Linked DNA regions of Homo sapiens: regions 1, 2, 3, 4, 6 and 7 are each linked to region 5. The links are contacts of gene promoters, found by promoter capture Hi-C in blood cells and fetal thymus (Javierre and others, 2016). All regions are on one chromosome and are shown on one strand. The core of a region is centred on a gene start or on the middle of the fragment in contact, and the rest is flanking DNA. Distances in the headings are between cores, read along the strand shown.

What was found. The method cuts DNA at HindIII sites, captures the fragments that hold promoters and counts their contacts. A CHiCAGO score of 5 or more calls a contact.
Region 1: a contact is called between a fragment that was not itself captured here and the fragment with the promoter of FOSL2 in region 5, in 15 of 17 cell types (M2 macrophages, M0 macrophages, activated CD4 T cells and 12 more). The highest score is 16.4, in M2 macrophages.
Region 2: a contact is called between a fragment that was not itself captured here and the fragment with the promoter of FOSL2 in region 5, in 4 of 17 cell types (monocytes, M1 macrophages, M2 macrophages and 1 more). The highest score is 8.2, in monocytes.
Region 3: a fragment that was not itself captured here is called in contact with the fragment with the promoter of FOSL2 in region 5 in 1 of 17 cell types (endothelial precursors); the score reaches 5.6 in endothelial precursors.
Region 4: a contact is called between a fragment that was not itself captured here and the fragment with the promoter of FOSL2 in region 5, in 1 of 17 cell types (M0 macrophages). The highest score is 5.4, in M0 macrophages.
Region 6: a fragment that was not itself captured here is called in contact with the fragment with the promoter of FOSL2 in region 5 in 1 of 17 cell types (M1 macrophages); the score reaches 5.4 in M1 macrophages.
Region 7: a fragment that was not itself captured here is called in contact with the fragment with the promoter of FOSL2 in region 5 in 5 of 17 cell types (endothelial precursors, M0 macrophages, M1 macrophages and 2 more); the score reaches 10.1 in endothelial precursors.

The regions. Positions count from the first base shown.
Region 1 is chr2:27,767,546-27,771,248 of GRCh38, forward strand. No RefSeq gene overlaps it. Among named protein-coding and RNA genes, the nearest start is that of MRPL33, 2.3 kb to the right of the region's middle. RefSeq lists a silencer at 203-403. The HindIII fragment of the contact is 1,694 bases long and covers 622-2,315 here.
Region 2 is chr2:27,826,356-27,830,485 of GRCh38, forward strand. RBKS (ribokinase) reads right to left here. Exons shown (of 8, transcript NM_022128.3): 7 at 1,212-1,400. Among named protein-coding and RNA genes, the nearest start is that of MRPL33, 57 kb to the left of the region's middle. The HindIII fragment of the contact is 3,134 bases long and covers 777-3,910 here.
Region 3 is chr2:27,847,272-27,851,472 of GRCh38, forward strand. It overlaps RBKS (ribokinase), which reads right to left. Exons shown (of 8, transcript NM_022128.3): 3 at 763-826. Among named protein-coding and RNA genes, the nearest start is that of RBKS, 41 kb to the right of the region's middle. The HindIII fragment of the contact is 3,931 bases long and covers 233-4,163 here.
Region 4 is chr2:27,665,812-27,669,468 of GRCh38, forward strand. It overlaps SLC4A1AP (solute carrier family 4 member 1 adaptor protein), which reads left to right. Exons shown (of 14, transcript NM_018158.3): 3 at 1,457-1,579; 4 at 3,032-3,092; 5 at 3,437-3,576. Among named protein-coding and RNA genes, the nearest start is that of SLC4A1AP, 3.8 kb to the left of the region's middle. The HindIII fragment of the contact is 2,905 bases long and covers 625-3,529 here.
Region 5 is chr2:28,390,801-28,394,486 of GRCh38, forward strand. FOSL2 (FOS like 2, AP-1 transcription factor subunit) reads left to right here and starts at 2,058. Exons shown (of 4, transcript NM_005253.4): 1 at 2,058-3,022. The coding sequence starts at 2,921. All of the region lies in intron 1 of FOSL2-AS1 (FOSL2 antisense RNA 1), which reads right to left. RefSeq lists silencers at 1,275-2,394, 2,881-3,057 and enhancers at 2,088-3,019, 3,175-3,675, 3,676-3,686. The HindIII fragment of the contact is 9,962 bases long and covers 491-3,686 here.
Region 6 is chr2:27,685,177-27,689,264 of GRCh38, forward strand. It overlaps SLC4A1AP (solute carrier family 4 member 1 adaptor protein), which reads left to right. Exons shown (of 14, transcript NM_018158.3): 10 at 1-101; 11 at 2,758-2,844; 12 at 3,524-3,591. Among named protein-coding and RNA genes, the nearest start is that of SLC4A1AP, 23 kb to the left of the region's middle. The HindIII fragment of the contact is 8,277 bases long and covers 1-4,088 here.
Region 7 is chr2:27,786,956-27,790,828 of GRCh38, forward strand. All of the region lies in intron 7 of RBKS (ribokinase), which reads right to left. Among named protein-coding and RNA genes, the nearest start is that of MRPL33, 17 kb to the left of the region's middle. The HindIII fragment of the contact is 757 bases long and covers 1,686-2,442 here.

The DNA of each region.
Region 1 (3,703 bases), core at 219-2,718, 620 kb before region 5:
TGTTAAGGAAACACCAAATACATGTGTTAACTAAATAAATAGGCATGAGCATGCAGATCAAGAAAAGTGTCTATTGTTCTCAAGGGGACCTTTGGGGGGCCTTTGGGTGGGATGGGAAAGTCACTGCCACTCTCCCAACTAAGTGGGAAAATGGCTGATTTCAGGTGCTGCCACTGCAGAAATCTTACTTAACTCTTGAGCCTTCCTGCTGCCCACAGAACTAAGCCTGACTCCCAGCTAGAACACTGGTTCTTTCATTGCCTAGCCCCAGCCATCCTTTCTAGCTCACCTCCCTCACTTCACCCCACACTCTAGCCCCAAGAGGATGCTCAATGTGCATTTTTTAGATGCCTTTTTTTTAGGTGCCTTCCCCCAGTTCCTTCCACTCTGCCTGTCTCAGGTTGACTTGGGAGGAAGTGGGACTGAAGGGAGAGAAAATAACTCAAGGCACAGTCCCTTAGTAGAGAAGGTTCGGTCTGTATTTGTCAAAAACGTGAGTGGGATAGCAACCTTCCGTTAGTGCTCCTGCTTGGGGGAGTGGGGGAGATTCAGAAGACCTGGTCCTTGAGGGACTTAGGTCCCATAATAGGAGGCAGACCTGTGATCCAAGGCATGCAGGGAAGCTTAATGGATGCTCTGAGAGGAATCTGTGGAGGGAAGATGTGGGGTGGAATGGGGAATGCAGGGTGAGGAAAGGCTTCATCCCTAAAGAGATTGGCACCCAGCAGCCTCAGTGAAGAGAGATGGGACTGAATTAGGAGGGTGAGGCCAGATGATAGAGGCCATTGAATGCCAACTGGAGGACACCCACTACACACAGGTTGAACCCAGTTGGTGGCCCCAGCTTCACTCGTCTTGCTCCCTCAGGTAGTCTTTGCTATAATGCTAAGCCATTGAGTCTGAGGGCCTGATTTTGAAGCTGTCCCATCTGCCTGTGGTGTCTGAGCTTGTAAAGGTACCAGCTCTTTTCAGGAAGCCCCAGCTTTCTCCTGTAGCGTCTTTCTCCTTCCACTGCCCATGTTCCCAGGCCCCTGGGACAGGTCAGGGAGCCAGGATCACTGATTCTGTAGGCAAGAACAGTGGCTGTACTTCCCAATCACAAGTCAAGCAAGATGTAGGTGTGACAATGGGCTGGATGATGGGCAGCCAGGGGTCTGCCAGCACAGCAGAGGAGGAGGGGTACAGCTTCTAGATCCTCGGGTTTGAATCCCATCACTAAGTGCTGGGAATACAGTGTCTACCAACCCAATACAGATGCTGTGTATGGAGCCCTGACCCAGAGCAGATGTTCTCTTCCTCTATCTGCTTCTCCGGGCTGAGAATCTAGGTTAAACAGCTTGATCTTCTCCTCCCTGTAGCACCCCACCTCCCAAAGAGGGTGCCCCTTCTCTAAGGACTACACTTTTTCCATTTGGGCTGCCAGGATGCTCTAATTGTTATGCACTTTCCTCTAATAAGGCATAGAGGGCTCATTATGTAAATTCAAGGAAAAAAGCCCCAAATCATGAATTACATCTGTATTATAATAAACATTTTAATTAACACTTACCAACTGCCAGCTATATTAGGTATAAATAACAGGTGGATGCAACATGAACTCCTGAGGCTAGAGAGTCACTGCCTCCAGCCTACTCCTTCAAGAATTTCAAGAAATAGTTCATATGCTATCTCTTTTCTTCCTCTCCCCTCTCCCCTCTCCTCTCTTGACATGGAGACTCCCTCTGTTGCCCACGCTGGGGTGCAGTGCTGCTACCTTGGCTCAATGCAACCTCTGCCTCCCAGGTTCAAGCAATTCTCCTGCCTCTGCATCCTGAGTAGCTGGAATTACAGGCGCCCACATCTGGCTAATTTTTTTTTTTAAGTTATTTTTGAGACGGAGTCTTGCTCAGTCGCCCAGCCTGGAGTGCAGTGGTGCGATCTTGGCTCACTGCAGGCTACACCTCCCAGGTTCACGCCATTCTCCTGCCTCAGCCTCCCGAGTAGCTGGGACTACAGGCACCCGCCACCACACCCGGCTAATTTTTTTTTTTTTTTTTTTTTGTATTTTTAGTAGAGATGGGGTTTCACCATGTTAGCCAGGATGGTCTCAATTTCCTGACCTCGTGATTCACCTGCCTCGGCCTCCCAAAGTGCTGGGATTACAGGTGTGAGCCACCGCGCCCGGCCAGTTGTGTTATTTTTTAGTAGAGATGGGGTTTCGCCATGTTGGCCAGGCTGGTCTCAAACTCCTGACCTCAGGTGATCTACCCTCGTCGGCCTCCCAAAATACTGGGATTGCAGGAGTGACCCACTGCACCTGGCTCTTTTCAAAAGCAAGCTTATACATTCTCCTGGATCCTGAAACTATTGACAATACTTAAAGTTAGTTTTTTTTTTTTTGCTATTTAAACATAAATATTGACATTTGTATGGTGCCTCTCACCTCAGATTCATTCATTCAATAGATATTTAATAGATGTAGCAGGCATTGTTGTAGGAACCAGGGATACAGCAGTGAGGGAATAAGCTGAAGTTCTTTTTTTTAATTAAAAAAATTTTTTTAGAGACAGGGTTTTGCTGTTGCCCAGCATTCTGGTAGCCAAAGACAATAGGGAAATCAACAAGTACACAAGTAATACTATTAATGGCAATAAGTGCTGTAGGAAAACATAAAGAAGAGTAAGGAGAATAGAGTTGGGGGCAGGGGCATGGAGTTTAAGAACTGCTATTTGGCTGGGCTAAAGTTAAAGTGACTTTCTAAGGGACAGAACAAGGACTAGAAATCATGTTCCTTGGCTTCCAGTCTTGTGTTTTCTTATAAATCCTCTAAAGGAAATATAAGAAACCTTATCCTCTTGAACATCTGAAGCTCTTTTTTGCCAATGCAAGGTAAGGAAGGATTTCGGCACCTGGAAGGTACTCAGTAGCTGGAGTCCGGTTATGGGAAGATAAATATCAAGAATGATTAGAAGGAAAAAAAGTATTATAGGTACTAAGGAGAAGGACGGTCTTAATTTAAAAAATTGAATTGTATTGTATGGAGAGCTGATTTTTTTCCTCCTCATCTTCTTTGTGATGGCACAGAGAGCTGAATTTTCTTTAAAACAGTTTTATTACTTTTTTTTTTTTTTTTTTTTGAGACGGAGTCTCACTTTGTCGCCCAGGCTGGAGTGCAGTGGCGCTATCTCGGCTCACTGCAACCTCCGCCTCCCGGGTTCAGCTAATTTTTGTATTTTTAGTACAGGCGGGATTCCGCGACGTTGGCCAGGCTGGTCTCAAACTCGTGACCTCAAGTGATCTGCCTGCCTCAGCCTCCCAAAGGGCTGGGATTACAGGCGTGAGCCATGCGATTAAATCTTATTTCACATCTGTAAGACTTCATATGTAGATACAAATCACGGATTAGGAAAAAAATCCAAAAGTCCTGATTATTAGTTGCGAAATGAGGTTACTGACGAGGTCCTTGGTGTTAGAGGAGCCCAGGTTCCTTACAGAGCCATGAAAAATTAATGATTGCAAACTGGTAGGTCCCAATGTCTACTGGGAAAGGCATGAGTCTTTGGAGTCAGATAAAATCTAGGTTTAAATTCTTACTCTGCCACCTGGTAGTTCTGTGATATTAGGCACGTGATGTGAATGCTCTCAATCTGTTATTTGGCTTCTATGTCAGGAACTGTGCTAGGTGTTTGGATACAGAAGTTTGAGATGCAAAGGGTCCTGCCCT
Region 2 (4,130 bases), core at 1,094-3,593, 560 kb before region 5:
CCTCAAGTCTAGTTTACTTACTTTTCTAGTCAGCTCTCCTGAATCTGTTTTTCTTTTCTTTTTTTTTTTTTTGAGACGGACTCTCGCTCTATTGCCAGGCTAGAGTGCAGTGGTGCAATCTTGGCTCACTGCAACCTCTGCCTCCCAGGTTCAAGTGATTTTCCTGCCTCAGCCCCCCAAGTAGCTGAGACTACAGGTGTGCACCACCATGCCCAGCTAAGTTTTGTATCTTTAGTAGAATGGGGTTTCACCATGTTGGCCAGGATGTTCTCGATCTCTTGACCTCATGATCCGCCCACCTCAGCCTCCCAAAGTGCTGGGACTACAAGTGTGAAGTGGCGCCTGGCAAGCTCTTCTGAATTCTAACAATAAACAAACAATTTGTGTTTCCCCAGCTTTAGGGGAACCATGAGTCTTTTTTCTAACTTGTTTCCTTTTCATTCCTACTCTGTAGCCATGGCTTGTTCACTTAGCACACTTGTCCTCAGCACAGTACCTTACATAAAAAATGTCTGTGTGGAGTCCATATGCCTAGTTTCGAATCTCCAGCTCTGTTACCTACCAGCAATGTGATCCTGTACAAATTTCTTCTTCTGTAAAATGGAAATAATACTTGTCTCACAGAATTGTTTAAAGATTAAATGAAAAAAAAGATTAAATGAGATGTATGCAAAAGAGACACAGCAAGCATGCAGTAAATGTTAGCTGCTAGAATTTGTTGGTTAAAAGAATGATCTCTGCTAACCAGTGCTCCTTGCTGTTCATTTCACTGGAGAAGCTTGTAAGACACAGCTACTTGTTCACTGCCTAGAATCTAAGCCCGACAAGGGCAGAGACTTTGCCTTATTTATTGCTATATCCCCAGCAACTATCATATGACTGGGACATGATAGGTATTCCACAAATCCCTATTTGTTGATGAATGACTGGATAAATGAATGAATACAGGTAACACAGGTATAATTTTACTGCTATTCTGATTTTATGAATGAGGAAACTACGTCTCAGAGAGGTCAAGCTGCTTGCATAAAGTCCCACAGAGAGTTAGAGAGGGATTAAAATACAGTTCCCCTGCCTGGTTGTTCTTCTCTTTTACCATATCACTTACTAGGGCTTTGTTTCATTATCCAAAAATTCAGGTACAGCATCTAATTAGTTACTAAGTAACAATTTTCAAAGGCTAAACATGATTCTTAAATTTTAAAACTTACCGTGGTATCCACAGCCTTGACTTTCTCTGTGGGAATGTGCTTTGGCTCAGGTTCTGTCTGTGACAGCACCACACATCCTTCAGCCCCTAAGGTAATGATTACCACCTGGCAGCCCCTTTTCAAGAGCACTAATGCAGCCTCCCCAGCATCTGCAGCGCTGCCCACCGTGAGGCCAGTTAAAATCTCAGCCTAGAATACACAAAAGTCAACAGAAACAGTGGTGAAAATAAGTAACCTGAATCCACTTCCAGATGCGTTTTTCTAGAAAATGTCTCCCTTCTTTTTTATAACAACCAATGCAATGGGAACCTTGATAGATACTGGTACAGGAAAATAAATAAAGCAATAACAGTGATGACAAAAACCATCAATGAAAGACATTCTGGGGACAACTGGGGAAATTTGAATGTGGCTTGGATATTAGATGATAGCATGGAATTACTGACAATCTTCCTAGGTGTGATAATGGTATTGTGTTTCCTCTTAGGAGATGTATGCCGAAGTATTTGGGGTGAGGCATCATGTTGTCTGCAACTTATTCTCAACAACAAAATACTTTTTTTTCCACTTACTTTTCAACAAAAACAAAACTAAATACATACAGGGAAGAGGAAAAGCAAATACAGCAAAATGTTAGCAAATGTTTAGGTGAAATGTAGAGTGTTCATTCAGCTTTTCTGCACATATAATAATTTTAACAAAGAGTTGGGGCAACAAAGAGAAGTCTACCAAAAAAAAAAGAAAAAGGAAGGTTGGAGGGGAGGCAGGAAAGGAGAAAGGAAAGGGCCACTGCCAAGAATTTTAGCATAAATTGCACCTGTAAGTTTGGCACCTAAGGACATAATTCTTCCAAGCCTCTCTTGGGCCATAATGCCTCTTCTCAAATTTCCAGTTTTTGCTTTCCATGTTTGCAGACTACTTATTTCTTTTGTTTGTTTTTGCCAGAGAAGATGGAAGCAGATTAGGAGAGGTAATGACAGGTAGCAGAAAACGCAATGCCCTGGCATTCAGGAGGCCTCTCCTACTCATTCAGTCTGTGACCTTCCCCACACCAATTACAATCTGTAAAATCAGGGGGCTTTCAACAAGATCCATATTTTTCTCCCAATTTCTCTTTCAATATACTAATTTTTCATTCCATTCTAATGTTTATTTTTCTACTGAGTGATTTAAAAACATTTCCATGACTTTTTAGGTTTTCAAGACTTCTAATTGGTTGTTTTTCATATTCACATGTTGTTGCTTTGATTCTGTTTTTCTTTCACAAAATTTTTTCTTCTTTCATAATGAATGTTAATCTTAATTATACTATTTAAAGTATTTTTTGCATTGTTTATTTATTTAGAGATAGTATCTTGCTCTATTACTCCAGCTGGAGTGCTGTGGCATGATCATAGCTCACTACAGCCTCAAACTCTTAAGCTCAAGCAATCCTTTTGCCTCAGCCTCCCAAATACTGGGACTCCAGGCATGCACCACCACACACAGCTAATCTTTTATTTTTGTAGAGACAGGATGAAGTCTCATTATGTTCCGCAGGCTGGTCTCAAACTCCTGGGTTCATGTGATTCAACTGCTTTGGCCTCCCAAAGCACTGGGATTACAGGTATGAGCCACCACGCCTGGCTGAATTTTATTATATGAATTTCATCTTGGGCAAATTCATCTGTAGGTTGTTGATTGTGCTGGGTGAATTTTGTAGCATTATGTTTTTCATTTGCAGGCTCACTTTACTTACTGTGAGTTGGAAAGCTGTCACACATCAGTTCCCACCTGGTTGATCCCTGCTTTTCAGTGTTTTTTTTTTTTTTTTTTTTTTGAGACAAGAGTCTTGCTCTGTCACCCAGGCTGAAGTGCAGTGGGGAGATCTCGGCTCACTGCAACCTGTGCCTCCCAGGTTCACACGATTCTCCTGCTTCAGCCTCCTGAGTAGCTGGGACTACAGGTGCATGCCACCACACCTGGCTAATTTTTGTATTTTTAGTAGAGATGGGTTTTCACCATGTTGACCAGGATGGTCTCGATCTCCTGACCTCGTGATCCACCTGCCTTGGCCTCCCAAAGTGCTGGGATTACAGGCGTGAGCCACCACGCCCAGCCCTCAGTGGTTTTACAGTAGCTTCCCCCAGGTACACAAGAGTCTCTAAACCAAAACCAGGTATTATATTGGCAATAGGGAGTTCTTGCTCTGCTGTTTCTGGGGCTACTGCCAGTCCAGTCACTAAGTCAGTGGTTGGCTTGGTTTACTTCTTGGTCAGAGGCTGTGTCTCTGTCCTGCTAACTCCTCAGTTTGGGGGCCTTAAATATGCTTCAGGCAGCAGGGGTAGCAGGTTCCTCCCCCTTTCACTGTTAGCAGGGGAGCCACAGCCTAGCATGTATGGTTTCCATCTGTGGGCTCGGCTCCAGTCCGCTATAAATGGCACACTTTTAGTATCCATGACCCACAGCGGGTGAACTTCCTGCCACTTCTGCCTGTTTCTGGGGCTAGTGTACAGCCAGCATATCAAGGGCTGAATGCTCTGTGAGGCTGTTCCATTTCTGATCTGTGGAGTTATTTATCTTGTTTTAGAGCTTGTAAGTATCTTTTCATTGTGTCCATTAGTATTTACATATCAGTGGTTTGTGTTTGGAGCAGAGTGAGTATCATAAGCATGAATTTACATTATTGCTGTGATTAGAGTTCATCTATAAGAACATTAAGCTTTTTTTTTTTGAGACAGAGTCTCCCTGTAGCCCAGGCTGGAGTGCAGCCGCCTGATCTTGGCTCACTGCAACCTCCACCTCCCAGGTCCTGGTTCAAGCAATTCTCCTGCCTCAGCCTCCTGAGTAGCTGGGCTTACAGGCACGTGCCACCATGCCCAGCTAATTTTTGTATTTTTAGTAGAGACGGGGTTTCACCATGTTGGCCAGGCTGGTCTT
Region 3 (4,201 bases), core at 948-3,447, 540 kb before region 5:
ACAACAAGAAAAATAGACAGCTTTACATGTAGTTGCACCTTTTCTCTGCATTAGTAACAACCCACCAAACTGCTCCTACTTTCGATTCCCCCCAATTATTCATAATTGTATACATATGCATTTTTCTAGACCAACACACTTATGTTCTTCATTGAAAGGAATGTCAGAGTTGAGATAAAAAGTAAAGGTCAAATCTATAAAATGAACTTGTTTGATTATTTTCATTCTCATAAGCTTGTTATTTCACCAAGAACCAAGGTCTGGCATATAAACAGAAATGTTGACCAGGCAGCCTTTGGTAGCAGCAAAGAGCCCTGAACTGGAATCAGAAGATCTTCATTCTAGTCCTGGCTCTAGCTCCAACCAACTGTGTGCTCTTGCAGAAATCACAGAACATCTCTGACCTTCGGTTTTCTCTTCTGTGAAATAATGGTTTCAGCCTGTATGGCTTCTAATGATTGTTGCCAGCTATAACATTCTTAAAACATCTTTTGTGAATGCAGCACCTTTTTCTCCTTGTCATTTGTCACATGTTCATGAGATGAAGGTTTGTAACCTCCTATCATTTTATTCCCATCTGGAGGAATGTACAGGGAAGAATCAACCCAAGGACATTTAAGCAAGAATGGACAAAGCTGTGCATAGAAATTCTCTGGCCACCAGGGGAAGGTCTAATAATCCTCCTCTAGATTCAATTTTTCTCATAACAAAATCACAGAAAAAAGCTATAAACACTAACTTTAAAAAAGGTGGGAATTTTACCTGTAGAAATATCATTCTGTTTTAAGTTTTCTATATAATCATTGCCAAAAGAATCTTTGCCAACCTGTACCAAAGAAATAATGAATATTAGATCTTTTAGAGTTAGTAAAATGCTACAATGTAGTTTTTAGAATACTTAGCATTTTAAAAGGGCATATCTGCACAGTACTTTATAAACATTAACTAATTAATCTTCTTAATATAAGATGCTAGACTTGATTGCAGCCCAAAGAATTGTTATATAATGTTTCACTTATATCCTACTTAAAATGTGAAGTATTTAATGAACATCACTCATTAAGTCATTCTCATTTTGAGCTGTTCATGTGATAATTCCCACTGAGATAGAGTTATCTACCATCATCAATCCTCAATATTTATGAAGAATCTCAGCTGTTTGTACTTCACTGTAAATATGGGTATCTTTGTCATGACTTGCCTGATGTTCCAGAATCTTTTTATCTTCTCCCTTGACACTGACACATAGAGGCAAAGAGAAGGAAATTTTAAAGGCCCTAGCTAACTTGGGTAACTTGGTATAATGGAATTGTGTTTTTGCATCCTAGCATCTATTCTGTTAAAGGTATTTCAGTTTTTCCTTTGGACACCTATTTCTGTCCCATTCTATAGACAACAAGATTAGGTTGGCCAAGGGACCCAGGCCTGATTAAAAAGCATGTTCCTTGTAGTCCCAGCTACTCGGGAGGCTGAAGCAGGAGAATTGCTTGAACCCGGAGGTGGAGGTTGCAGTGAGCCGAGGTCACACCACTGCACTATAGTCTGGGTGACAGAGTGAGACTGTCTCAAAAAAAAAAAAAAAAAAGTGTGTTCCACCATCCTAGTCACAGTGATGGGTTCATGAATGAGCATGTGACCTAAACTAGTCCAATAAGACTCAGTCCTGGGACTTTTACTGAAACTACCAGGGAAGACAAGTTTTCTTCCCAGTAAGATTGCTGGCTATAAGAGAATGTAAGCCTGCAGCCACTGGGGCTCACCATGTGGAGACAGCTAGAAAGAAAAGAGAGAAACATAACAGAAAGCAGGAGGGTGACAGACACAAACAGACACAGACTCCTAATAGCCTAATGGAACCCTAAGTCATCTGAAGCCAGCTCTACCACTGGGCTTTTCAGTTACATGAGGCAATACATTCTTTTTAAAAATTTTATTTTATTTTTTTTTGCTTAAGCTATTTTGAATTGGGTGTCTATTGTCTGTTATTAACAAAGTCCTGACTAGCTTCAGGCTGGGTGCGGTGGCTCATGCCTGTAATCCCAACACTTTGGGAGGTCAAGGCGGATGGATCACCTGAGGTCAGGAGTTCGAGGCCAGCCTGGTCAACATGGTAAAACCCCATCTCTACTGAAAATACAAAAATCAGCCGGGTGTGGTGGCGCACGCCTGTAGTCCCAGTTACTTGAGAGGCTGAGGTAGAACTGCTTAAACCCAGGAGGCGGAGGTTGCAGTAAGCTGAGATTGTGCCACTGCACTCCAGCCTGGGCGACAGAGCAAGACTCTGTCTCAAAAAAAAAAAAAAAAAAAAAAAAAAAGAAAAAGAAAAAAAGAAAAAAAAGAAAAGAAAAAGCTAGTTAGCCTAGTGCCTAGTGTAACCCTGAACCACTGAACTATAATTTAAGTAGCTTTGTCTGTGACTGGATCCTGTGACCACATTCTTGCTTTGTGGTCCACTTTGGTAACTGGATCTCCCCTGTTTTTGTCAGCATGAGTGTGTATCCTAATCATCTGGTTAGCCCTCTAGCTCTTTCAGAACAGGCACTCTTCTCTGCCTGGCCAGCCATTTGCAGGGGCCAGGCCTTTAGGTCTGTGGCTCAAAACCAGAAAACTATGATTGCAAGGCCTTTGATACTAATGCTGGCATCTTATCGACATCTCCCTACTGTCCGTTTCTGGCCTCCGTGGTGCTGCAATCACTGTGCTAGTCAGGACACCCTTGTTATCTTCTCCCATACCCCTCTAATGCTAACCATTTGTCTGACTGCTACCTTGGCTGGACCTTGGCTTGAACTCTACAGTTGAATCTACAGCAGAGGTTGTAAATTGGTGGGCTGAAAGTTCAATCTGACTGCTAGATATGTTTTGTTTGCCCTACTACTGTTTTCTAAAAACTAGACTTTATTTTAAAAACAGTTTTAGGTTCTCAGCCTAAGAGAGTAGAAAGTACAGAGTTCCCATATACTCTCTGTCTCCTCCGGCAACTAGTATCCCCCACTATTAACATCCTGCAACTAAGTGGTACTTTGTTACAACTGATAAACCTACATGACATATCATTATCACTCAAACTCCATAGTTTACATTAGGGTTCACCCTTGGTGTCGGATATTCTATAGGGTTTAACAAATGTAAAATGTCATATACCCACCATTATAGTACTATACACAATAGTTTCACTACCCTAAAAATCCTCTATGCTTTGTATATTCATCCTTCTCTCCCCACTAGCCTCTGGCAACCACTAATCTTTTGTCTCCATAGTTTTGCCTTTTCCAGAATATCATACAGTTGTAATTACACAGTATGCAGCCTTTTCAGATTGACTTCTTTTACTTAGTAATATGCAACTAAAGTTCCTCTGTGTCTTTTTATGCCTTGATAGCTAATTTCTTTTTAGGGCTGAATGATATTCCATTGTCTCGATGTACCAGAGTTTATTTATCCATTTATCTACTAAAGGATGTCTTCCAAGTTTGGGAAATTATGAATAAAGCTGCTATAAATATCTGTGTGCAGGTTTTGGTGTAAATGCCCTGCTATTTTTATCAGTTCTCAATACTTAAATATTAGAAGACTTCACAAAAACAGACAGATGTCCAGGGGGTTCTGAAAATTCAGAGGTTCTGGTAACACTGGGTCCACATTCCTGCAAGGCAAACCACCTGGAACTGAGAGGTGAGTGCCTTAAAGTGCTCATAGACTCTTGGCTTCACCTAGCCTACTGCAATTTCTGTTACCTGCTTGGCTCCTGTAGGCCTTTAGTCTTGCTACCTCTGAACTATACTTCTGAACTGAACTTCTATTTTTCTGTCCTGCAGGTGAGCATTACTTCAATGGACTATGTCTCAATCCAGGTTTCAGTCACTCCTGGTGTGTTCTATTCTTCCACAGAAAATTGTTCCTTTCTGGATATATCAATAGAAAGAAACCTGTCTGTTTCCTTACCATCATTTCTGAGAACTTAGAAGTCCTTTGCCCTCTCTCCTCCACTAAATCAAACCTCACCTGTTTTTCAAGTATCAGCTTAAGGTCTACCTTCCCTACTCTGGCCCTTGTTAATCCTCTCATCTCCACACCTCCTATGACATTCCTAATCAAGCCCATAGTTCAATACCATCTTATATTGTTGGCGATTTCATATTTGTTAGTCTAGTCTTCTTAAAAGCTTACTGGAGATTCTTTAGGATTTGATCACATTAGT
Region 4 (3,657 bases), core at 827-3,326, 720 kb before region 5:
GATGGGAGTATAAAAAGGTAGAAGATGGCATTAATATATAGTTGGGAAGATAGGAAAAATTATGAAATTACTTGTGCTAAGTGCCAAACAAAAGCTAGAAACCATAAGTATGCTAGAGTGAAAGTTTGGAGAAGAGAGAACAGTCACTGGGGACTTAGACCTGTGTTGTCTGATATGGTAGCCACTAGCCACATGTGGTTACTGAGCACTTGCAGTGTGGCTAGTTGCAATTGATGTGTGCTGTAAATGCAAAATACACACTGAATTTCAAAGACTTAGTCTGAAAAAAAGAATGTAAAATATCTCTTTCATGATATTTTTATATTGATGACATGTTGAAATGACAATAATTTTACCTGTTTCCTTTTAATTTTTTAATGTGGCTAATAGAAAATTTAAGATGACGCATACAGCTGTCATTATATTTCTGTTGGACAGCACTGACTTAGATCTTTGGGAAACTTAATTTTTTTTATTTTAGTAGAGATGGGGTTTCACCATATTGGCCAGGCTGGTCTTGAACTCCTGACCTTGTGATCCACCCCCCACCCCCCCCCCCCACCCCGCCCCCCGGCCTCCCAAAGTGTAGAGATTACAGGCGTGAGCGATCGCACTCCACAGGGAAGCTTTATGAGCATAAGGATTTTGAGCTGGAACTTGAAGGAAAGGAAAAGCCTTATGAAGCTGAGTATTGGGATTGGTATTCAGGGTAGGAATTGATGATTTTAAGGAAGTTGTGAGTAGACCAGTCTATTTGGCAGATATAAGAAGTATTAGGAAATTATATTGGGAACGAAAGTTAGATATGAGTGTGAGAGAACAAGAATGCCAGGCTGAGGAGCTCAAATTTTTTTTCCACAATGTGGTAGGTAATTTTACTTTTAAAATATAATGATGGAGAAAAAAAAATTAAGGTGCCATGAAAACAAGTTTTGACTTGTCACACAATTTAGAAAACCTGAATATGCTCATACTAGTGGTTTTGTGGTGGTTGTTCCACCCCCTGTCCCTGCAAGTATTTATTATTTTTCATCACAGATAAACTATATATATATATATATTTTTTTTTTTTTGGGAGACGGTCTCACTGTGTTGCTTGGGTTGGAGTGCAGGTAGCGCGATCTTGGCTCACTACAACTTCTTCCTCCCAGGTTCAAGCAATTCTCCTGCCTCAGCCTCCCAAGTAGCTGGGATTACAGACACCCGCCACTGTGCCCAGCTAATTTTTTTTGTATTTTTAGTAGAGATGGGGTTTCACCATGTTGGCCAAGCTGGTCTTGAACTCCTGACCTTGTGATCCACCTGCCTTGGCCTCCCAAAGTGCTGGGATTACAGGCATGAGCCACTGCGCCCAGCCTAAACTATATCTTTATGCAGCCTGAGAGAATAGTGGGTATCATTCAAATAGTCTCTTCTCATGTCTGATTATCTTTTCTTTCTTTTCCATATCCTGTAGGAGAAGATGCAGTAGAGGATGATGCTGAAGAGAACCCTATTGTCTTAGAGTTTCAGCAGGAAAGGGAGGCCTTTTATATAAAGGATCCCAAAAAGGCTCTCCAAGGCTTTTTTGACCGAGAAGGTATGTAAACAGATTCTGACCCTACCACTAAAACATATCCAGAGCAGTGTGGTTTTCTAGAGCTTCATGTTGAGCTTTATACTAAGATATGCTATAATTTTATTGCTGTCCTTCTTGTTCACTTTTTACTCTTGTGGTCAGTTGCTTTAGGTTTATTTTGAAAATTATTCCTCATTAGTATGGCAGAGGGGAAAAAAATCATAAAAATCTTGTTAGTCTTTCTTCTTATCTTAAAAAAAGGAAGTACTTTTTCCTGACTCATCTCATTCTTCTCAAAAGATCCTGGACTTTGGTGGTGGGGAAATTGAGCCAACTTCCTGTAGTTTTTTAATTCCGAATTCACCTGATCTTTTGTAATTCCTAACATAGGTTTTGATTTTATATTATATGATTTAAAATTTTTTTTCCATAGAGGATTGTTTTGGTAGGAATACTTTGAGAGAATATCTATGTATATGTATGTATATCTGTATATATTTTATATGTATATATAAATAATATATGAAATAGCTGTGCACTTAATATCTGTGCTTCTAAAAACCAGGCAACTGTGTTAAAATAACCACTAAAGTCTACAACTTATAAAAGTGAAACATACTATACAGTGAACAGAGCTATGTATGGAGAATTGGTTACTTTGATCTGAGTTTGTTTTTTTCTCTGCCTCAGACTTACTCTAATTTTATTATCAGACAATAATCCCTAGGAATGAGAAGTGAAATGCATTGAAATTTATTATTCAGTGTGGTATGGGAACTTGTTCTTTTTTTTTTTTTGAGACGGAGTCTCGCTCTGTTGCCCAGGCTGGAGTGCAGTGGTGCGATCTCGCCTCACTGCAAGCTCCGCCTTCCGGATTCACGCCATTCTCCTGCGTCAGCCTCCCGAGTAGCTGGGACTACAGGCGCCCGCCACCACGCCCGGCTAATTTTTTTTGTATTTTTAGTAGAGACGGGGTTTCACTGTGTTAGCCAGAATGGTCTCGATCTCCTGACCTCGTGATCCTCCCATCTCGGCCATCCAAAGTGCTGGGATTACAAGCGTGAGCCACCGCGCCCAGCCAGAACTTGTTCTTTTTTTGAGACAGGGTCTCACTCTGTCGCCCAGGCCGGAGTGCAATGGCGCAATCTTGGCTCACTGCAACCTTGACCTCCTGGGTTTAAGCTATGCTCCGGCCTTAGCCCCCGTAGTAGCTGGGACAAAAGTCACGTACCATCATGCCCGGCTAATTTCTGTATTTTTTGTACAGATGGGGTTTTGCCATGTTGCACAGACTGGTTTCGCGCTCCTTAACTCAAGCTGTCATCCCGCCTCAGCCTCCCAAAGTGTTAGGATTACAGGCGTGAGCCACTGCTAGGAACTTGTTCGTATTTAACGTTTGTTCTCATTTATCATTGTATCAACTAGTAATTTTTGGATTCTATTAAAATTGTTTTGTCTGTCTTTCTCCCACAGGAGAAGAATTAGAATATGAATTTGATGAACAGGGACATAGCACTTGGCTCTGCAGGGTGAGGTATGCTCTTTTCTTATTAATGTTCTTTTCTGGAAAATGGCCAATTTCAGGTTTAATGTATGGTTATAGATAACAACCCAAAGAGTAACTTTCATCTAAGTTTAAGCTATTTCTAAATTTGAGCCTTTATCGTTTAGTAACCCTTATATTATTGGAGAGTGGGGTGGGATGGGTAAGAAATAGAAAGAAAATATTTTAAATCCAACATTGGAAAGATAGAACAAGATGGATTCAAAGACTGAAAGGCCATCTAAAAAAAAAATGACTATTATCATAGCATAGTAGTTGTTTTCTTGAGAATTGGAGCTTAATGCTGTGCTATAATTCCCACCAAATCAATGAAGATTACCTGTGGACGATTCAACTGGAAAACAACTGGTGGCTGAGGCCATTCACTCAGGAAAGAAAAAAGAAGCAATGATCCAGTGCTCATTGGAAGCTTGTCGGATTCTTGACACTTTGGGATTGCTTCGGCAGGAAGCAGGTCAGTATATAGGAGCCCTTTTTTTCTAGATTTAAAAAAAGGAAAACTCAACACAAACGCTAATAAAACTTCTTTATGGGG
Region 5 (3,686 bases), core at 808-3,307:
GGGAAAATGTCACGATTTCTTCTGTGCCCCTCCCGTCCCTACCCCCACCCCCAGTTTTCTGAGTTTTGCTGCTGCCGCTGGGGAAGGACTGATTCGTTTTGCGTCAAAGGACTGCATTTACTCAGTCCTGCTGGGAGAGGCGCGTAAACACCCAGGCAAGCCAGGACGCAGGGATGGGGAGGGGGAAGAAAAAAGCAAAGCACCCACGGCCGGCGCGCGCGTCCGCCTGCCCCACACCCCTCTCCTGGGCCTGCGGAGTTGGGGACTCTGTCCAGCGGGCAGCAGCGGAGGTGCGAGGAGTCTGGCTGGCCTCGCCTCGTCGCGCACGCGCGCGCGTCCTTGGGGATAGCGTTCAGGACAGAATGTGTTTTATAGCTGTAAACAATGACCCCGAGTATTGTTTGGGATTACCGTATCTTGGGGCCCTTGGGGCGGCCAGATGCCGCCAGCCGTCCCGGAAATGCCAGCGCTTTATATAGAGCCCCAGGAAAGCTTCGCGTTCCCGGCTCTATTTTTCTCTGCTACCAACACCCCCACTTTGCAGATAAGGAAACTGAGGACAGAAGTTGTGTGACGGTGCACAGCGAGTTGTCAGCAATGGACTCTCAACACCTCTTAACATTGGGTCCTCATAAGGACCCTGTGGGGTACAGATGGCTGGCGCTACTTAAGAATTGGGTAAACTGAGGCTAACACAGACCCTGGACCAAAACCTAAGTTCCCTGACTTCCGCTACAGTACTTCTCCATTCACACACACCATCATCTCAGCGGAAGGATTGGAGCTCCAGAGCAGAGAAGGGCCTAAGGTCATGTCTCCAAACTCCTTCACTTTATAGGAGGAAACTGAGGCCCAGAGAGGTTAAGGAATTCGTCCAAGATCTCACAGCTCGTAAATAGCGTAGCCGGGCGTTCCTGCTCTAAGGTCTGTGCTCTGTACCCTGCGCCGCGCCCCTCCCAGCCCCGCCCAGCGAGGGAGGAGGACCCAAATGTCCGGCAACCCGCGCCCTGAACTTCGCTCCAAAACAGCTGAAGACGACAACGTTGGGGCACACCCTCTCGCTGGCTTTTTTTTTTTTTTTTTAATTCGTAACAGTCTGGAGTTTGCTTATAAACGCCCGATTACTCTTATTAGATGCGTCCTAATTGCCCGGCGTATAGGGCGGCCGGAATGTCTTGACTGGTTAATTTCATCTTCAAGGCTACTCCTAACGAATTAACTGTAGGACCGAAAACATGAAAAACAAAAAACAAAAAGGGAACCGGTAGGCAGACCGCCACGGAGGGAAAAATAGGCAGGCCAGCCCCGCCCGGCGCCGTGCCCCGCCAACACCCGGCCGCAGGGCGGCGCGGGCACCCTGCGCGCCCGGGGCGCCCGCTGCACTCGGCGGCGCCGCGGAGGGCGCCTACGACCGCGCGCAGCCGCGCCCTCCCTGCGAGCGGCTCTGCGCGCCCGGCTCCCGGCCTCCCGGTGGCGCCGCACCGAACCGCCCGTCTCGCCGTCAGGGCTGTGATTATTTTCTAAAATCCGGAGGCGAGACCCGCGCGGCCGCTCTCGGGGCCCCGCCCCGAGCCCCTTCCCAGGGCGGGGGAGAGGCCGCAGCGCACTCGGGAGCGGGCGAGGGAATCCCTCTCCCTCCACGTCACCCGAAAGCGAGGAAACCCGCACTCGCGTCCTCTAACGCAAATGACCATCTTTGGCAACGTGCGCCAATGGAACAGACCAAGGGCGCTGGGCCCGGGGGGTGAGCGGGGGACTGGGGAGGGCCGGGGCTGCCTCGGCGCCTCCGAACCGTGCGTGGCGCCCGCTCCCGCCCGTGCCACCGCCTGGCTTCCTCGCGCGGGGTGCGCGGTTGGCGTCAGCGCGGCCGGGAGCCGGGGCTGGGAGGGGAGAGCTGCGCCCGCCTCCTCCCCTCCCGCGCCTCTTCCTCCTCCGCGGCCTCCTCCCCCCGCCTCCTCGTGCGCTCCTCCCTGCAAGGTGGAGTCTGGGGTTGACGTGAGTGAATCCACATGGTACAGGGCTGGAGAATAAAGAGTGTGAGTTGAACTCGTGCCATTGTAGTGACTCATCTCGGGCAGAGCGCTAGGGCTCCGAGCGAACCAGCGAGCGAGCGAACGAGCGGCGCTCGGCGGGGACAGAAAGAGGGAGAGAGAGAGAGAGAGAGAGGGAGAGGCGCGGCCGGGCGAGGCGGGCCCGTCCGGGAGCGGGCTCCGGGGAAGGGGTGCGGGTCTGGGCGCCGGAGCGGGGAGCGGGGCCGCGTCCCTCTCAGCGCCAGCTCTACTTGAGCCCCACGAGCCGCTGTCCCCCTGGCGCGCTCGGGGCCGCGGGACGGGCGCACGCCGCCTTCTCCTAGTCAAGTATCCGAGCCGCCCCGAAACTCGGGCGGCGAGTCGGCCACGGGAAGTTTATTCTCCGGCTCCTTTTCTAAAAGGAAGAAACAGAAGTTTCTCCCAGCGGACAGCTTTTCTTTCCGCCTTTTTGGCCCTGTCTGAAATCGGGGGTCCCCAGGGCTGGCAGGCCAGGCTCGCTGGGCTCCTAATCTTTTTTTTAATTTCCAATTTTTGATTGGGCCGTGGGTCCCCGCTGAGCTCCGGCTGCGCGCGGGGGCGGGAGGGCGCGCGCAGGGGAGGGACCGAGAGACGCGCCGACTTTTTAGAGGGAGGGATCGGGTGGACAACTGGTCCCGCGGCGCTCGCAGAGCCGGAAAGAAGTGCTGTAAGGGACGCTCGGGGGACGCTGTTCCTGAGGTGTCGCCGCCTCCCTGTCCTCGCCCTCCGCGGTGGGGGAGAAACCCAGGAGCGAAGCCCAGAGCCCGCGGCGCGGCCGGCGGACGAACGAGCGCGCAGCAGCCGGTGCGCGGCCGCGGCGAGGGCGGGGGAAGAAAAACACCCTGTTTCCTCTCCGGCCCCCACCGCGGATCATGTACCAGGATTATCCCGGGAACTTTGACACCTCGTCCCGGGGCAGCAGCGGCTCTCCTGCGCACGCCGAGTCCTACTCCAGCGGCGGCGGCGGCCAGCAGGTAGGTGCGGGCCCCGGTGCACCTGGCGGCGCGGGCGGACCCCTGCCCTCTTCTCGCCGCCACTGCCTCTTTTGCTTTCTTTTCTTTTTCTTGGCGAGAAAATACCTACGGGCCACCGTTGTAAGTTCTGGATTTTCGTCCTCCCCTTCCCCCCCACCCCCTTTTAAACTAGGGGATTGGAGAGTGGGCTTGAAGAGACAACATGCCCTTTTCCTCTCACGTTATATTTTACCCAGATAGACTCCTGGAATTGTAGGCCCCCTACCAGGAGCCTGTTACCTCCTTCCAAGAACTACTCCCCCTCCCCAGTGTCTGCCCCCCCCCCCCCACCCCTGCCCCGCGTCTTCTCTCTGGGTGGTGGACAGACAAGAAAATCTTTGCACCCACTGGCACCTCTCGACATCCTGGGACCCTATTCCTTCAGGAAAGCCCTCTCTCTCTCCTCCCCGTTCTCCATCAGTCATAACTCCTTTCTGAAAGGGGTTGGGGACCCAGAAACATGGTTGGACTCCTTCAAGTAATCTGGAGCGAGGGCGAGGGCTGCCGCTCTGGGAATCAGGTGCGAAGGTCAGGAAGGAAGAAGCCAGCCTTGGTTGGCTCATGCCGCCTGTGTGCCCCCTGCCTGCCTGCCTGCCCCCCCGCCGACCCGTCTTCTGTAAGGATC
Region 6 (4,088 bases), core at 1-2,500, 710 kb before region 5:
AAGCCTCAGTAGGCCACAGCCAGAGATAGAGCCAGAAGCAGCAGTGCAGGAAATGAGGCCTCCCACAGATCTCACACATTTTAAAGAAACCCAAACCCATGGTAATATCTTTCTTCTCCTTCCTGTGTTGTTCAGTGGGCAGTTACATTGATTGTGGATAGGTTTTAAAAAGCAAGGCCAGTTCTTGTCTGTGCATTTGACTTTGTATGTGATATACTGACTCTGTAGCAAGGAAACATACTTTCTTGGTCTTCTTCCTTTGACCGCCAGTCATTATTTGTCTTCATTGCAAATTAAGGGCAGTTATTTCCAATCCATTCCAGAATTACAGAAAATTGAAGGCTATGGAATCTGAAACCATAGCTGCTGTGGAATAATCCTGAGCTGCTGCCACTGTGTGAGTTGGAGGGCAGTGGAACAGGGTACATGATGGGGCCTGATCAGGTGGTCTCCGGATAAGTCAACCCCTATTCATTTTTTCCTCCATCCCTAAAACAGAGGCCAAACCATAATTGTACTCATTGGACTAAAGTTCTCAAGAAGGATCTTGCTTCATTCATTTTTGTGTGTTTGGAACCTAGCACAAAACCTGACACATATCCACCCGCCTCAGCAAATATTTGATGAAAAATGTTGAAAGACGGAATAGATTGATATTCATATAGATATATGCATCAATTAATTCTGTATTTTCTATATATATATTCTAATTACAAAGGGTTATATGTTCATTTTAGAAACTATAGATCATACATAAAAGTCCAAAGGAAAAAAAAGAAATCCCCACAACCCCACCCCTAAAGATCATTGTTTATCTTTTTAGTATCCTTTCATCCCTTGTCAACTGCAGGGGTTATTTTCCTGCTGGTTGGCCAAACTGGTTAGGAAGATAAAGATCTCAGAAAATAAGGAGTATGAGGAGAAACAATAAAAACTGGCACTGAATGTATGGGAATGCATGCATGTCTACTTCCACAACAAACCAGGCTTGGCTACATAAAAACTCCAGGCCTGGTATGTAGCCCTTCTCTTGAATCACCTTCATTTGTCTGGGAAACAGAAAAGTTACTGTTTCCTCATCTGTGAGAGGTAAGTATTCTGTATCTGCATTTGTCCTTTTCAAAAAGGTACTTACATGAGCTTGGTCTTTGGGCCATATATTGTGAAGGTGGATATAAACAGGTCAGCAGGAGGGGAGCAATAAGTATCATAATTTTTTTGTTTAACAGACCAAAGTAAGTATGTGTGTGTAAAAATAGCTTAGATTTTGAAACTTGGTTTATAAGATTAAATAATTAGTAAATTTGGCCAGGCACAGTGGCTCACGCCTGTAATCCCAGCACTTTGGGAGGCCGAGGCGGATGGATCACCTGAGGTCAGGAGTTCGAGACCAGGCTGGCCAATGTGGTGAGACCCCGTCTCTACTAAAAATACAGAAAAAATTAGTTGGGCGTGATGGTGCATGCTTGTAATCACAGGTACTCAGGAGGGCTCTGAGCAGGCAGGAGAATTGCTTGAACCCGGGAGACAGAAGTTGCAGTGAATTGAGATCATGCCACTGCTCTCCAGCCTGGGTGATAGAGTGAGACTGTTTCAAAAACAAAACAAAACAAAATTAAATAATTAGTAAATTTGCAGTGATGAGGGATTACCCCAGGCCTTTTTTCCTGTGGTTTGTTTTTATTTTTACTTTAATATTTACTTTTATTGAGACAGAGTCTTACTTTGTTACCCAGGTTGGAGTACTGTGGTGTGATCTTGGCTCTCTGAAGCCTTGACCTCCCAAGGCACATGCTTGTAGAGAAAATAGAGTCATAGGGTCTCCCTATGTTGCTCAAGCTGGTCTCAAACTCCTGGCCTCAAGCAATCCTCTCACCTCAGCCTCCCAAAGTGCTGGGATTATAGGCGTAAGCCACCATGCCCAGTTTATATATTGCTATTTTATAACCTAGTTTTTTTTTTCCTATGCCTTAGACTATTCTTTTTAAAATGTGGTTTCAGAGAAGGAGCATAGTGGTTCATCACATGCATATGCCATAATGTATTTAGTCAACTCTCAATTGTTGAACATGTAGGTTATTTCTTAATTTTTGCTATTACAAACATATATATAACAAATTTTGGGGCTAGGCTGGGTGACTCACACCTGTAATCCCAACATTTTGGGAGGCCGAAGTAGGAGAATGACTTGAGCCCAGGAGTTTGAAACCAGCCTGGACAAGATAGTGAAACTCTATCTCTACAAAAAATTAAAAAAAAAAAATATTGGCCAGGCATGGTGGTACATGCCTGTAGTCCTAGCTACTCTGCAGGCTGAGGCAGGAGGATCTCTGTAGCCCAGGAATTCAAGGCAGCAGTGAGCTATGATTGCCCCACTGCACTCCAGCTTGGGCAACAGAGAAAAACCCTGTTTCTAAAATAATAATAAATTTTGGTGGTCATCTCTGATTTTTAAAAAAATATGTTCTGGGAGTAGAATTTCTAGGCCAAGGAGTATGTACATTTTTGAGGCTTTTAGTAAGTATTGCTAAAAAGTTTTACCTCAATGTTGGCTAGTGTTTTAAGTGGAAAATTGGCAGTTTTCTGTAATACATTTGAAACATATTTATTTAAAACCTTAAGATTAGTTGAAGCTGATGATAATAAAACTGGATGATTATGTACTTAGCTTCTCTTTCTCTTGTTTTTGTTTTTGTTTGTTTGGCTTTCCACCATGAATTAAATCATGACAATATGATTTGATATTGCTTTTTATAGAAAACATGTCTCAACTTAGCGAGGAAGAACAGAATAAAGATTATCAAGACTGTAGCAAAACCACTTCATTGTGCGCAGGACCCTCAGGCAAGTAGTACGGCAGCCTTCATTGCTGCTCTGCACACAGGTGGCTGACTGGTTTCATAAGGGAGGGGCTGGCAGCTGACCTGAAGGCAGCACAGAGAATGGTCCTTTAGTTATGTTGCCACTAGGCCCCTGGACAAAGTTGGAACATAAGAGAGGTTTGTATTTGGTGCCATCCCATTTGCCTTTCTTTTACTCCTCTTCCACCTTCTGGGGTTCCCTCTCCCTCCCCCACAAAGCACCTAATGCCTTGATACTTCCCTCTGGCTGTGCAAAGCTCTCCACAATTTTACATCTCCCAAAGTCAAATATGTACCTATTATGGGAGTAATTCCAAAACTATCTTAAAAGAAATTGTTAAAAGGACTGCTTTACTCTGGTTTTACCTGTAATGGTTAAACTGTGGACTAGTAAAATCAGCCTCATTTTTTTTAAACTTGTTCGCATAATGTGGTTATATTCAAACTTGTAGAACAGCCTTAGGATTTAAAAACTAGGGTTATTCATCCAGGAAAAATTTTCTCTTGATATAGTTTTTACAGCAGTAGAAGGAATTGTTGAGAATTGCATTGTCATGAGCATCTTTTCTTCAATAATTGTAATGTTCTTTTAGGAAGAATTTTGCCTTTTTATTTTACTTATACTGAAAATAGCTATTGCCAGTTTTTTTTTCTTAAATTAGCATCAAAGAATGAATATGAGAAAAGCAGAGGTGAATTGAAGAAAAAGAAAACACCTGGTCCAGGCAAAGTAAGTATTTCACTTGTCTGGGAGTAAAAATGAATCCCTTTGTCATGGACCACATCCAGAAAAGTGAATCTTTGGAGACTGACTTAACAGAGTTCCCAGCAGCCTTATTCCCCTCTCCTAGAAATCTAGATTCTTTGATTTTTGTTTTTGAATTTTCTGTTGTCTTTATCACTCTTTTCCCTATAACTGCTCACATACAAGCTATCTCTTTTATTAGTTTATGAATCTTTCTTTATATCCTAATTTGCCATATAAAGACATTTGAATAACATATTCTTATTTTCCTCCTTTTATTACACAAAAGGTAGGATGTGATGTACTCCATTCTACATCTGTTTTTTTGTTTTATTTATTTATTTATTTATTTAAACCACTCATGGAAATTATTTTGTAACAGTATATTGAGAGTTTCTCACCATATGGAGGACGTTATCTAACAGTTCCTTACAGATGGACACTTGCATTGTTTTTAGTCTTTTATTACAATAATACTATAA
Region 7 (3,873 bases), core at 814-3,313, 600 kb before region 5:
CCCTTCATTCTCAGGGCTACAACATGTGTTGCTTTTTTCTTTCTTTCTTTTGAGATACGGTCTTGCTCTGTCACCCAGGATGGAGCGCAGTAGTATAATCATAGCTCACTGATGCCTTTGTCTCCCAGACTCAAGCAATCCTTCCACCTCAGCCTCCTGAGTAGCTGGGACCACAGGTGTGCACCACCACACCCAGCTAATCTTTTTATATTTTGTAGAGATGAGGTTGGCCAGGCACGGCGGCTCACGTCTGTAATCCCAGCACACTGGGAGCAAGACCAGCCTGGGCAACGTCGTGAAGCCCTGTCTCTACAAAAAACATAAAAATTAGCTGGGCACTGTGGTGTGTGCTTGTAGTCCTAGCTACCTGGGAGGCTGAGGCAGGAGGATCACCTGAGCCCAGGGATGTCAAGCCCGCAGTGAGCCGTGATCATGTCACTGCACTCCAGCCTGGGCGAAAGAGTGAGATCCTGTCCAAACAAACAAATAAAACAAATAAATAGCCAGGGTCTTCCCATGGTCTCAAACTCCTGGGCTCAAGGGATCCTCCCGCCTTGGCCTCCCAAAGTGCTGGGATTACAGGTACGAGCCACTGTGCCTGGCCTACACACTGTGTTGATAGGGAATAGAAGATAAGTCCTTCCTATATTAAAAATAAGGGGTTCCCAACAAAGAAAACTCTAGACTAGATGGCTTCGCTGGATAATCCTTGCAAACATTTAAGTGAGAAGTAATCCTAATTCTACACAAATTCTTTAAGAAAATAGCAGAGCCAAGGAAACACTATAATGCTAGTGTCACCATGATACCAAAACCAGACAATGACATTGCAAGAAAACAAGATCAATACCCTTTGTGAATATAGATGTAAAAACCTTAACTTTTTAAAGCAAATTAAATAAATATATGTGTGTGTATATATATATATAAAATATCTGATAATGCATCATGACCAAGTAGAATTTATCCCAGGAATGCAAGATTGGTTTAACATTTTAAAAAATCAGTGTAATTCAGTAATATTAAAAACCTTATGATTATATCAACAGGAGCTGAAAAAGCATATGACAAAATTCTACATTCATTCATGATAAAAGTTCAGCAAATTTAGAAATAAGGTGTAACTTGATCTTCTTGATAAAGAGCATTTATGAAAAATCTACAGCTAACATCATACTCAACCAGAAAGACTGAATGCTTCCTCCCTAATATTGGGAACAATCAAAGATGTCTGTTCTCACTACTTCTACTCAACATTGTACTGGATTGCCTAGCCAGTGCAAAAGGACAGGGGAAAAAAAAGAAAGAAAAGGCATACAGATTGAAAAGGAAGAAGTAAAACACTTTTTCTTTGTAGATGACATAATGACCTACGTAGAAAATCCTAAGAAGTCCAGCCAAAAAGCTACTAGAAATAGTAGGTTTAGCAAGGTAACGGGACACAAGGTCACTATAAAAAACCAACTGCAGCCAGGCGCGGTGGCTCACGCCTGTAATCCCAGCACTTTCGGAGGCCGAGACGGGTGGATAACAAGGTCAGGAGATCGAGACCATCCTGGCTAACATGGTGAAACCCCGTCTCTACTAAAAATACAAGAAAAATTAGCTGGGCATGGTGGCAGGCACCTGTAGTCCCAGCTACTCGGGAGGCTGAGGCAGGTGAATGGTGTGAACCTGGGAGGTGAAGCTTGCAGTGAGCCAAGATCGCATCACTGCACTCCAGCCTGGGTAACAGAGCGAAAAAAACCAATTCTATTTCTATATGTTAGCAATGAACAAGAACTCAAAGTTATCAAAACATTTGCAACAGCATTTTAAAAATGAAGTATTTAAGGCTAAATTTAACTGAATATGTGTAAGATCTATCCACTCTTGCTATGGAAAGTAAAAGAAAAATTAAAGAAAAACAAATGGTGAGAGTTTCAAGGACTGGAAAACTCAATATTCTTAAGATATAAATTCTCCCCAAATTGATCTATAGATTAATGCAATTCCAATAAAAATCCCAGCTGCCAACTATTGTAAATTAATAAACTGATTTTAAAATGTATATGTAAATGGAAATGACCTAGAATAGCCAAAACAGTTTTGAAAAAGAACAAAGTTTCCAGGCTTACCATAAGCTACAGTAATTAGACAGAGAGATACTGACATAAGGATAGACACGTAGCTCACTTGATAACTTGATAGAAGAGTCCAGATACAGACCCACAAATATATGGTCAACTTATTTCCAACAAAGGTATAGGTTGAGTATCCCTTATCTGAAATACATGGGACCAGAGATGTTTTGGATTTCAGATCTTTTTTTTTGGATTTTTGGAATATTTGCATTATACTCACTGGTTGAATATCTCTTATCCACAAATTTGAAATCCAATATACTCCAATGAACATTTCTTTTGAGGATCAGGTCGGCACTAAAAAAATTTCAGATTTTGAAGCTTTTTTTTTTTTTTTTTGAGATAGGTCTCACTCTGTTGCCCAGGCTGGAGTGTGGTGGCATGATCTTGGCTCACTGTAACCTCCGCCTCCTGGGTTCAAGCAATCCTCCCACTTCAGCCTCCCAAGTAGCTGGGAGTATAGATGTGTGCCACCACACCTGGCCTTTTTAAAAAATTTTTTTTGAGTCAGAGTCTCACTCTGTAGCCCAGTTTGGAGTGCAATGGTGCTGTCTTGACTCACTGTAACTTCCGCCTCCTAGGTTCAAGCAATTCTCCTGCCTTAGCCTCCCAAGTAGCTGGGATTACAGGCATCTGCCACCACGCCTGGCTAATTTTTGTATTTTTAGTAGAGATGAGATTTCACCATATTGGCCAGCCTGATCTCGAGCTCCTGACCTCGTGATCCACCCGCCACGCCCTCCCAAAGTGCTGGGATTACAGGCGTGAACCACCATGCCTGGCCAGCTGATGTGTGTGTGTGTGTGTGTGTGTGTGTATAGAGTGTGTGTGTGTGTGTTTGTGTGTGTATATATATATATATGTATATGTGTATATATATATATATATATATATGTATATATATATGTAGAGAGAGAGAGAGAGAGAGAGAGAGAGAGATGTGGTTTCACCATGTTGCCCAGGCTGGTCTTGAACTCCTAGGCTCAAGGGATCTACCTGCCTTGGCCTCTTGAAGTGCTGAGATTACAAGTGTGATTACAGGGATGACACTGCACCTGGCCCATGATTTTGAAGCATTTTGGATTGCAGATTTTGGATTAGGGAAACGCAACCTGTACCCAGTAATTCAATGGAGGAAAGGGCAGTCTTTTAAACAAATGGTTCTGGGACAAATGGATATCCATATGTAAGAACACAAACCCTTACCTCACACCATAGACAACAATTAACTCAAAATGGGTCACAAACCTAAATGTAAGAGTTGAAACAACAAACTTCTAGAAGAAGACAGGAGAAAAGCTGTAACCTTGTGCTAGGCAGATTTCTTAGGACACCAAAAGCACAAAGATTAAAAAACCTGATAAACTGAAATTTATCCAAATTTAAAGCCTCTGCCCTTCAAAAGAATATCAAAAGATAAGCCATGGACTGGGATAAAATATTTGCAAAACATGTATCTAGTAAAGTACTGTTATAACTCAATAATACAATCCAATAAGACCAACAACACAATAAAAATGGGCAAGAGATTTGAACAGAAGCTTCATCAAAGAAGCTTCATCATGCATATGCCAAATAAGTATATGAAAAGATGCTCAATATCATCAGACACTAGGGAAATGCAAATTCAAAACACAGTGAGATGGCATTATATACCTAGTACAAAGACTAAAATGTTTAAAGCTGAAAGTACCAATGGTTGGTGTAAATGTGGAGATACGAGAAGTCTTATTCATTGCTTGTGGGAATG